3 separate regions of the Homo sapiens genome follow, and all the other regions are linked to region 3. Evidence: promoter capture Hi-C in 16 types of primary human blood cells and fetal thymus (Javierre and others, 2016). All regions are on one chromosome and are shown on one strand. Each heading gives the region's core, a stretch centred on a gene start or on the middle of the fragment in contact. The rest is flanking DNA. Distances are from core to core; before and after follow the strand shown. Region 1 has its middle 110 kb from the start of VEPH1. Region 2 holds the start of LOC101928236 (a long non-coding RNA gene). Region 3 holds the start of LXN (latexin).

Region 1 (3,964 bases), core at 874-3,373, 1.1 Mb before region 3:
CTGAGAGTTGTTCCTGAATCCTGGATAAACTGATGAGCTCAAGGAGCCTTGATGTCAAAAAAATTTTGCAACCATTCTTATGACCCTAAACTAAATTCTGAAATTAACCAACCAGTCAATGATGCAGTGCCTAATGGGGACAGGGGCAGCCCTGTGTCAGGTATTGATGAATTCAGAGAGTCACTTTATATCAGAGAAGCATGAGTCATGAGCTCAGCCTTCCAAGAAGGTCTGCGAAGGGGGAGCTCAGGGAGGGTGAATGTAATTATCTAATGCAATGGCAGCCTCAATAAAGGATGGCAGGGGGACGAACAATAAAAGGAAAGTACTGGAGCATCTGATTAGGACCCCAAATATTAAAAACAACAGGGAGGATTCTCAAGAGAGTAGAGACAAAGCTTCCTTCTGGGGCGATATGAAGCAAATAGCCCCTATTCCTCTCTCTCACTCTCTTCTGAAAACTCATGAACCCACCACAAAAGAAGCCTTGCGGAACTTTAAATCCAAAATCAGATTTGCACAAAGGACAGACACTGGCTTAAAGTCATGGGATGAAGGGGCCAGAAATTTGGCTTTGATAAGTTAGGTAAAATATTTATCCTGAAGGAAAAAAATACCACCAGATGTCTTTCCTTCTAGAGAGTAATCCAGGTAAGGCTGGTGACAGCTTCTTATTCCATAATGGCATCCCAGAGGGAAAAAGGAAAATGAAAGGAAGCTCTTTTAATCTTGGCATCATCTCAGATCTGATACTTGGAAAACAGGTTTATTTTAAAAAGCAGATCAGCAGCCCCAAAGGAGCATGCATAACAGGAGCCTCCAGCTTTGTTTGGGGCCCAGCTGTTCTTGGGCAGACTGACATGGCTTCTCTTCTGCCAGTGTCAGGCCAAGAATACGCTCCTTCCCCTCTGGTGCTACAAAGAGCAACAATGCACCCCGAGGGACAGAAGAATCAGCCAACAGGGCAGGAGTCTCTATCTCCCCAGCTATTACTTAGGCCTGTTGAGGGCTCAGAGGGTAGATCCCACTTCCAGTACAGCACAGGCCAGGAAGCTAAAGGCCTGCTGCAAAGTCAGATGGGAAGAACTGCAGGACATTCTCCCCACTGCTTCACCTGTGGGGTCAGGCAGGACCACAGATCTTTGGCAAACAATGTGGGCTGTGGAAGGCCCGTGACTATCTTGTGGAAGGGTGAATTTGAATCACCCTTGCAGAAAGGCAGAAATGAGTTCTTTGCTAGTGAGTGGGCCTAGCTGGCTGCCCAGCAGTGTTCTTGCTTCCGTGGAGGGTGGGCTATATCTGAATGTATGTTTAGACACATACCATGTTCTGAGAAAGTGTGCCTCAGGGACTGTCTACTCCAACATTCCCTACAGATTCTAAGACTGAGCCCTGGTCCCAACATCTTAGAAGGGGCCAGTTAAGGGGCGACAGAAACCTGTTGTCAGTCCCTGAAAAAACTCCACATAGTCATGTAAGTGTAACAAGACAGAGATTTTTTTAAACGGTTTCTTTATTTGATAAAGATGTTCATGATGATCATTGTCCTTGAAAATAAATTTCCAAAGAGTCATGGGGCTTATTTTCTCTGTAGTTTAGCATCAAGCAGAGAGAAAAGGCATCGGACCAATAGCTACCCTCTGGGAGCTGACCTGTGCCACCCAGTTGCCAGGAAACCTGCGCCATCCAGACTCACTTGTGCTGAGGACAGCTCCTGGCACGGTGGCACCCCATCCTCACCATTCATATTTTTCTTTCCCACAGTCCCAAATCTGTTCTAGTTAATCAGTGAGGAAAACAGTTTGGGAATAAAACTAAAATGGACATGACTATGCCTGGCCCTCGCCTTTTCTAAGACTGGAAAAGAGTTTTAGATGGCAAGAGGACCCCATCATTGCGCAGACGAGGAAAGGAAAAGGAGGGAGGTGAGATGGCTCACCCAGTGGCACCGCAGGGGTCAGCAGAGCCTGGGAGCCCAGCACTTCATTCCCAGCTCCATCCAGTGGCCACTGCCATACCACGAGGTGCTGCAGGTTTCTTATTTGATTGTATTGAACAAAAACCAGGGTGGGGGTGAGGAGGTAAACACTGACTGTCACATTTTAGGCCTAGAATCCCTACATTCTATATTAGCAGAAGGAACTAAAACTGTTTCCCAAGTAAAAATTAACCAATACACAGATGTGAATATGGATGATGTCTTAGCCTGTTTTGTGTGCTATGAGTATCGCAGACCAGGTAATTTATAACAGACAGAAATTTACTTCCCACAGTTCTGGAGGTTGGAGGGTCCAAGATCAAGGCACCATCAGGTTTGGTGTCTGGTGGAGGCTGTATCCTTTGGAAGGGGGCTAGCAGAAGACCAAGCAAATGAGCCTGCGTGCAGAGGCACTTTTATAAGGGCCTTGATCCCATTCACCAGGAGAAGCCCTCATGCCCCAATCACTTAAGGCCTCATATCTTTATATTATCACACTGCAACACTTGAATTTTGGAGGGGACACATTCAAATCATAGCCAATATTTTGGCTGTGTTTCCTACCCCCACGCCATTCATGAGCCAAGTTAGAATCATTGAGCTTCTGCCCAACCATTGTGATGGATCCTCTCAAAAGACTCCTGCCTGTAATCCCACCACTTTAGGAGGCCAAACTCGGCAGATGGATCATCTGAGGTCAGGAGATCGAGACCATCCTGGCAAACATGGCGAAACCCCGTCTCTACTAAAAATACAAAAATTAGCTGGCCATGGTGGCAGGTGCTTGTAATCCCAGCTACTTGAGAGGCTGAGGCAGGAGAATCTCTTGAACCTAGGAAGTGGAGGTTGCATTGAGCCGAGATCGTGCCATTGCACTCCAGGCTGGGTGACGACAGCGAAACTCCATCTCAAAACAAACAAACAAACAAACAAACAACAACAAAAAACAAAAAAAACCTCACCTCCCTCTCTCACAGCTCTTGTCTCCTTTTGGGCCTAAGGAAAACACCAGTTCCACAGGAGAGGATGAAGGTAAATGGGAGGTGAGACGGCTCTGGAACTGGCCTCCTATGAAGCCACAGTAGCTTAATTCCCTCACGAAGAGACTTCTTCAGCCAACCACGTCTCAGGCTGCACCCACCAATCACAATCCCAGAAAGAAGAGGCAAGGGAGTCTCTGAGACAGGCTGTCCTCAGACCAGGAGCTGAGGTCAGTGGTGCTCTGCAAACTTTCATCCGAACTTTGTCTCAGCCTTCCTTTTAAGCTCCAGGAAAGACTAGAAGTCACAATCTTAGAGGAAATGGACTTGGGTTTTCATTAAATTTCTCCTGTATGGGGCATTGGGCAATGGGCATGTGAGTTCAGCTTCTGACAATGGTGATTCCCATTGCTCTGTTTGAATAGAAGCCACACTTCAGAGGAGAAAGAACAGGGAGTAACGGTGTCTGGATTTCTGAGTCACCCTGGTCAGGATACACCAGGTCAAAGTGCTTACCTTTCAGTCGTTTGGATGATTTACTGCTACCTGACTGGTCTCCCTTGCCTTGATTTTTCCCTGTCTATGTTTACTTTACTCAGAGGAAATACCTATCTCCTTATCTTACCCTAATCAATAGATGTCTTTGGTGGGTCTCCACTGCTTATCCATTCAAACTCCTCACCTCAGAGTTGCAGGTCCTTCATCACACTGGCTCACCGCTCCCTTCACAGGCCTGCTTTCCTGCCAAGCCACATTTCTAAGAGTTCCCTAAACTCAACCTCTCTCTTTCAGCTTTTCCACCCATTGACTTTATTTCAGAATAATTCCCTCACCCAGAGCACCACACTGCTCTTGCTACAAACCTCTCTATCTGCCCAATTCCAGCCATCAAAGCTTACCCCTAATGTCACCCAAAGTCTAACACGGTCATTATCTCAATGGTGATGATGAGGAGAAGGATGTTGGTGCATAGCATGTATTATTATGTACCAGGCCACATGTTAAG
Region 2 (4,006 bases), core at 534-3,033, 1.5 Mb before region 3:
TATTCTACCCCTAGGATTTTCAGTTACATGAATACATAACTCCTTTTTATTTATTTAATCTTAAATCCAACTTAATGGAAAGACTGATAAAAGGAATATTGTGGTACGCTAGAATGTGGAGTCTATAGATACACACACACACATATTACACTGAACATATATGACTTATAGAATTGCCATGCCTTGAAAAAGAATTTTGACTCAGTCTGGTAATAATAGAAACAGATACAATGCACAGAAGGGGTTCAGAGGATGGAGGAATTTTTTTTGACAAGGTAACAAAAAGGAGGTAATATGTGGTCTAGGTTTTAAAGACTACATTCATAAACATTGGTCAGAAGGATAAGTGTGGAAGACCATTTTAGGCAGAGGGAAAACAGGTGCCAAGATGGGGAGGTATGAGATCGCTGGGTGCATTGAGAAATACAGTGAACATCTGTGTTTCAGCCTGCCCAGTGCCCAGTCTCCCTTCCTCAGTTCTCCCTTGAGGACCTGCAACTTCTCCATTCTCAGCAAAAGTGGTTTGGGTAGGACTAACCTCTTTCCTACTTTGTGAACTAATCTGAGTCTCCCATCGCCCTTCCCTCCCACACAGCGATTGGTTCTGAATGTCTGTCATGTCCAGAACTCTTGCTGGAACACTTGCAAGGGGAGGAGAGAGAAGTGCTTGTTCTTGCTGGGATTACTGAGAGGAGGATTTAAGCACAGAGCTACTGAGTGCCATCTTGACACAAAAGAGAACCAGCTGGAGAATGGAACCAGCAGAGAAAAGAGCAGAGACCAGAGCTAGAAACAGAATCCAATCACTTAGTTTATTTCCCTGCAGCCATGCCCTGTATTCTACTGCTGGGATTTTCAGTTACACGAACACTTAACTCCTTTTTACTTATTTAATCTTAAACCCATCTTAATGGAAAGACTGACACAAGAAATACTGTGGTGTGCTAGAATGTGGTGCATACGTGTGTATACTAGGGACTAATGTGGCTGAAGAGGTGGGCGAGGGCAGGCATGTCAGGCATGTGAAGGGCTGAGGAACAGACCCTCATTTTAGGGGACTCTCAGAAACTCTGGAGGGTTTAAAGCAGTGTTTACCTCAACAAGAAAATCAAGAGCTATAAATCAGAAACTGTAATATTAAGAACATTTAGTTTTTCAAGCTTTTCTAGTAGTTCATTTCTTTTTATTGTTTGTCTCTAATAATTACAAAACTTGAAAACAGGAGAAGGAGGGCTACAGAAGTAGCTGGGGCTGGAGCAGTGACTTCAGGGACTGGAGATAGCCCTGTACAATTAAAAATAGAAAGGACCTAGCAAGTCCCTGGAAATGACATTTTTAAAATGATTCCATTTTCCTCTTAAGGATTAAGTTGTAATTTTATTTTGAGCAATGAAGTGGCTGACCCCTTTTAGTAATGTTTTCTATTTCATAATAAACATTCAACAGAAATAGAATTTCAAGAGGAAACTTTTATAAATAATGAGAATCAGCTATTCCGAAGCTCCCTACACATTTTAATTAGTTTTCTCCCAGGAACACATTCATTAACTATTTTGAACACTATAAAACAAAAGTAAACCAGCACCACATCAAGTTCCCTGCGTATAGCTGTCATGTCTGTTTAAATTCTATAGCAGTTTGTGTGTGTGTGTGTGTGTGTGTGTGTGTGTGTGTGTGTGTCTTGTGATATTTTTCACAATTCCAGGCCAACTACTTTGAAGCATGTTCCTAAATTTGGATGTGTCTGATTATTTCCTCATGATTAGATTCAGGTTAAAGATTTTTCAAGGAATACTCCATAGGTAATGTTGTATCTCCATGCTTCACATCTAGGGGCACACGATGCCCAATTTTTTGTTCAATTATTGGCTACTTTTTATCATTTGTTAAGGTGGTATCCATCAGATTTCTCCATTGTAAAAGTACCTTAACACCCTTGCAATTAATAAGTAATCCATGGGATTATTCTTCCACAGTAAATAGCATTCTAACAAATATCAGTATCAAAGAAAAATGGCCCATAATGAAATTTTGTACAGTTAGAATGACTCTAACAAATCTCTACTGAGTATTCACTAAACTATGTTATGCTAGGCACTAAGACCAAAGTGATGAACAAATAGAGTACATGGAATGCTACATGAAAGGGTAGAATGCTACAGGAGCATACAGGAGAGGAACAAAGACCATTACATGTGAAGAAATGGAAGTTCAGAGATGTGAAAGGACTCGACCAAGATTTTAGATCCAGTAGCAGAGTGAAATTAGAACGGTGGTTTTTCTGATGCCCAGTCCAGTGTTCTTTCCATGACCACACACAAGGGCTCTACTGTAATGTTGGTTCTCTGGAACAAGTATAGCATTTGTTACCACAGTGAAAACAATGATACCTTAGTACTAAAAGAACAAGCTTTCTCCAGATCTACCACAAGGTGCTTTAGAGGGAATTTCGATTTAAACTATGTGCATTGTAACATTGAAGTCACTGGAGACCTAGTCTAGTTTTGCCTCAGGGAACTGTTTCTTTATAGTGTCACTGTCACACACACATGCACATACACACGCAGGCACATGCATACAGCACATAACTGGATATTGCTTATCAGCCCCATCTTAAAAATAGCACAGAACAAGACTTTTATTTTCAGCAATCAGGAAACGTTCAGAGGTATCTACATCCTAGTCTTGAGAGTCGACTTATATTTGATACCTGATTTTTATAGTTTTCACAGCATTTTCATATACTATCACTGGACTCTCAAAAACAACACAGTTAAGGCAGGTGTGATTGGGCACAGCTGTAGTACCAGGTACTCAGGAGACTAAGGCGAGAGGATAACTTGATCCCAGGAGTTCAAGTCCAGCCTGGGCAACATAAGGAGACCTCATCTCTTAAAAAACACCTGAACTGGCCAGACGCGGTGGCTCACGCCTGTAATCCCAGCGCTTTGGGAGGCCGAGGTGGCTGGATCACCTGAGGTCAGGAGTTGGAGACCAGCGTGACCAACATGGTGAAACCCCGTTTGCGGTGTTAGCCAGGTGTGGTGCCGCATGCCTCTAATCCCAGCTACTTCAGGAGGCTGAGGCAGGAGACTCACTTGAACCCAGAAGGCGCAGGTTGCAGTGAGCCAAGATCGCGCCCATTGCACTCCAGCCTGGGTGACAAGAGCAAAACGCTGCCTCAAAAAAATACAAAAAACACAAAAAAAAACCCCACCTGAATTATTTCTTAAGGTGGGAAAGAGGGATCAGTGTAAAATGTTGGCTGGATTACTGTCTTGCCTTTAGATATAAAAATATCTAGTGTATACTTAATTTTCAGAATTACAAAATTAGGGAATGATCAAACGTATATATATATTTTATTTTTCAAAAGCCTGCGGCACCCAGTGTTTCAAGGTGGTCTCGCATTCAAGGACTAGCTAAGCAGGTCAGACCCTGCTTAGCTTCCAAGATCAGAGAAGACAGGGCAAGTTCAGGGTGGTGTGGCTGTGGACCATGTTTTTATACCTATAATTTATTTATATTCATTCACTCAATCCTGCTGTATGCAGGACGATCTCAGCTTCAAACTCAAAAGCTGGATCTGGTGGTCAGCTCTTTCAGGCACTGTTTTGTCATGGGATTTAAAGATCTCTTGTGCTTAGTTTTGGATCTGTAAACATAAATCCCAACCTGGATTCTTCCCTGGGCTGACGGAGTTCAGGGAGAAAGGTAGCAGTAGATAAGTCATATGCTGGAAAAGCTTGGACTCTACCCTGTCATGAAAACTTTCAGGAACATTTCTTATTTCTTTTTAGAGACAAGGTCTCACTATGTTGCCCAGGCTGGCCTCGAACTCCCGGGCTTCAGCAGTCCTCCCGCCTCACCCTCCGATGTAGCTAGGACTACAGGACCGCGACCCGGCGCTGCCTAAGAACTGTTTTTAAACGTGAAAGCCACGGCTATCATTTGCTTTTTGCTCTGCTCTTCATCTTCTGGATAAACCTCGTAACACACTGCTTGT
Region 3 (3,622 bases), core at 759-3,258:
AATCAATCTTACAGATTTGATCAGCAAAGATGATCTGGAATATTTAGAATTAAATTTGTTTAATAAGAACATTTTGGCTGGGCTTGGTAGCTCATGCTTGTAATCCTAGCACTTTGGGAGGCAGAGGCAGGAGGATCACAAAAATTAGCCAGGTGTAGTGGCATGCACCTGTGGTCCCAGCTATTTGGGGAGGCTGAGGTGGGAAGATGGCCTGAGCCCGGGAAGTTGAGGCTGCAGTGAGCCATGTTCTGCCACTGCACTTCAGCCTGGGTGATAGAGTGAGACCCTGTCTCAAAGAAAAAAGAAATTTAACTTACTTTTTGTATAATTTCTTCAACAGCAAATTTAAGGTGATACTTATGTCCTCTTCCTGGAATATCCTAAAATTAAGAAAATGTAGTGGAGACAAGAAAATATTATAACAACATTATACTTGCATTGTTAGAAGTATGCATCTCATTTGGTTGGAGGGGCTGGCTGAAGGGGAATGGTGAAAGCCTTAGGTCTTGAAAAAGGCATGTCACCATGAATGTAACATCTAATTTAGCAAGTCCCCTATCAAGTTTATTTTGGATGAAAACAAAAGAGTAGGATAAAAGCATACAAATTGGGCACAATTCACTTTCAATCATCAAAAGACTTTATTTAACCCCTGGATCTGTGATCTTAAAGTCTCTACATAAGAAAGTTTGAAACAGCGTTTAATTCTAAAGATGACAATATCACCTTTGAAAAGATTTTTTCATAAAGCTCAGTGTACCCTCCAAATAATGTTCAATGAATGTGAATTTCATTTTGAGGCAGATTACTGCAAAGCAATTGGAGACTTAATACAATTAAGTATTGTTTTTACTTATACATTAGTGAAACTGCAAAATGATTAACAAATTATATAAGACTAAGAAATGGTATTTCACTTTTAAATCAAGATACAGATTGAAAATTTATACCTAATTCTGTTATCTGGTACAGTTTCAAAATAAGATCTACTGTGTCACCTCTAAAAGACTGTTAGCAGTTAAAATTCTGTCAGATAAATAAGGGATAATCTCAAATCCAGTAGATTTTCGTAAAATGAAAACAAACCTCGTTAGTGATTGCTGAGGCCTTAAACATTTAATTCAAGCCTTTAGCAGAGGGTGCACATCATTTAAGGCAGTCATGTGGTAGCGGTGTTTGGGTGGCTAAAGGCCAGCGTCAGCCCACAGTGCTTTTATTCTTTGACTTTGATTGTCAGTTTCTCTTGCTGTTTGTTTCCCCCTTCATTTTGGTCAAAGGGTCTGATAAGGATTTGTCTTAAAATGTAGGCAATAGAGTCTTGGAAGATGGGAGCTTTTGTTGGTCCAGATCAGAGTAGCAGATGAGAAACGTGGCAGCCTTAGTAGTCTTTTGAATGGTTTCTACAGTTTACACTTAAGGAAAGTGCTGCCCCTTACCTAGAGCGTGTTCCCGTTTTCTTGTAACTGTGTGCGTAAAAACTTTGTCTCTGCCTTAAGGTGAAAACAGTCCCGGGCTGTCTCCAGAGACTGGAGTATAGACATTCCCCCAGAAACCTTAATATCTCAAGACCAGATACCAGCAGTGTGTCCTAAAACAGAAGGTGGGTAGGGGGTGGCACGGAGTGTCTGCACCCAAAGGCTGAGACCGCGGGTGAGTGGAGGGAGCGCAATCCTGAAGCCTCTGCTGTCCACCACCCCCTGCTAAACTCACCTCCATGCTGGCTTGTTTGACCTTCTGCACCTCAAACACCCTGTGCGGGGTCCCCTGCTGGTAGTTGATGTAGTTCTGTGCCACCAAGGCCGCCCTGGAGGCTGGGTAGTTGGTCGGCGGGATTTCCATTCCGGATGAGCAGTGACTTCAGGGCTTGGGCTACTCTGGCTTAACGGGACCAGTAGCAGAGCGCCGCCCGTCCTGCTTGCTGCTGGGTCCGGTTGCCGAGGCGGAAAAGTCGCAAGCTCCTTCAGTCAGTCTTCTTCCTCAGCTCCTTCCGACTCCGGAAGCTGCTGTTTGGGCCCAGGCTCCCTGCATCCGAGAGCCCTGGGCTGACTGCTTCTGAGGCCCCGCCCCACTACTGCCTGCAGCGGGCTTCCTTACTCCGCCTGCTGGTTCCTACTGGAGGAGAGGCCAGCATGCTTGTCAGGCACCAGCAGGTGGAGGTGTGGGGAGGGAGTCAGTGGGCTAGGTTCGCTGGGATTGCATCTTTCGTTTCATTAACCTTTATAGAAGTGCAGGGTGGGGCTTTCGCTGATATAGGACATCTCTGAAGACTCTAGTTTCCTGTCCATGGGAAAAAAGTCTGGTTGCTTCGCTTGCATACTGGAGCACAACTTCCTTATACACCGCATGCAGCGTCCCTGGCAGGGCAAGGTACACAGTACTCCAGGTAGTGATTCGATTCCTTCATTTCCCTTCCCCTTATGAGAGTCCAGGAAGAGGCTTGCTCATCCTCAGCTTTTTGTGGGTTTGGACCAGTTCTGCCCAAATCAAAGTATGAGAATCTGCAAACTATAGTATTAAATTGGGAGATTATGTAATTTGGATCAGGAGAAATAAAAAAATGCACCTGTACCCCTCTCCTTTACTAATCTTAAAATGATAAGTTTTGATGTAACGCCATGCTTCCAACTTGAGTCATTTTGAATATTTTACTTCAAGGATTAAAATAAACTTAAAAACTGAACTTATACAAAGCACTCTCTCTGGTATGTGGTCTACCTCATTGCAATGGGCCTATAAACCTGACTTTGTAGAAGTACAGGTTTATCCTTGGTGGTCTTAGGTTAATTGGGCTAGGATAACTTGGAGATTCTACCAAAGTTTGGCCAAGGTCTTCGCTGCCTGGATTGAGACCTTTTTTTCTTTTCTTTTCTTTTTTTTTTTTTTTTTTTTGAGATGGAATTTCACTCTTGTTGCCTAGGCTGGAGTGCAATGGTGCTATCTCGGCTCACTGCAACGTCCGCCTCCTGGGTTCAAGCAGTTCTCCTGCCTCAGCCTCCAGAGTAGCTGGGATTACAGGTGCCCACCACAATGCCCGGCTAGTTTTTTGTATTTTTAGTAGAGACGGGTTTAGGCTAGGCTGGTCTCAAACTCCTGACCTCAGGTGATCCACCCACCTTAGCCTCCCAAAGTGCTGGGATTACAGGCATAAGCCACCATGCCTGGCCAGGACCTTTAACTTGGTAGTAATGCACACACCCAAGACTCTTGAGGTGTATCTCTTTCTGATTATGTAGATTCTGCAGTAAATCTGGATTCTGGACTTTGGCCTCAGTTTCATGCTTATTATTGTCTCCTGGGATTTGGGGGTTCTGATTGACTTTGCCTTTAAATACCATCTGTCTGCTTGCCCATCATCTTGTATCAAATGTCAATGAAACTTTTCTCAGTCTTGTCCGTGTATGAGAAATTTGCTTTGCGAGACACTGTCTTTCACACATGACCTTTTTTTTTTTTTTTTTGGAGACAGAGTTTCGCTCTGTTGCCTAGGCTGCAGTGCAGTGGCGTGATCTCGGCTCACTGCAACCTCCACCTCCCAGGTTCAAGCATTTCTCCTGCCTCAGCCTCCCTAGTATCTGGGACTACAGGTGCACTTCACCACACCTGGCTAATTTTTTTGTATTTT

What was found. Contacts are between HindIII fragments. The CHiCAGO score rates a contact against its expected background, and 5 or more counts as called.
Region 1: a fragment that was not itself captured here is called in contact with the fragment with the promoter of LXN in region 3 in 1 of 17 cell types (M0 macrophages); the score reaches 6.4 in M0 macrophages.
Region 2: a fragment that was not itself captured here is called in contact with the fragment with the promoter of LXN in region 3 in 1 of 17 cell types (erythroblasts); the score reaches 6.1 in erythroblasts.

What each region holds. Positions count from the first base shown.
Region 1 is chr3:157,611,676-157,615,639 of GRCh38, forward strand. No RefSeq gene overlaps it. Among named protein-coding and RNA genes, the nearest start is that of VEPH1, 110 kb to the left of the region's middle. The HindIII fragment of the contact is 3,454 bases long and covers 397-3,850 here.
Region 2 is chr3:157,170,544-157,174,549 of GRCh38, forward strand. It overlaps LOC101928236 (a long non-coding RNA gene), which reads left to right and starts at 3,157. Exons shown (of 10, transcript XR_007096141.1): 1 at 3,157-4,006. It also overlaps the pseudogene RNA5SP146. RefSeq lists an enhancer at 3,806-4,006. The HindIII fragment of the contact is 1,250 bases long and covers 1,159-2,408 here.
Region 3 is chr3:158,670,640-158,674,261 of GRCh38, forward strand. LXN (latexin) reads right to left here and starts at 2,009. Exons shown (of 6, transcript NM_020169.4): 1 at 1,711-2,009; 2 at 318-380. The coding sequence starts at 1,839. All of the region lies in intron 13 of GFM1 (G elongation factor mitochondrial 1), which reads left to right. RefSeq lists enhancers at 1,226-1,818, 1,333-1,392, 1,819-2,411, 1,833-1,882, 2,193-2,382. The HindIII fragment of the contact is 4,555 bases long and covers 1-3,622 here.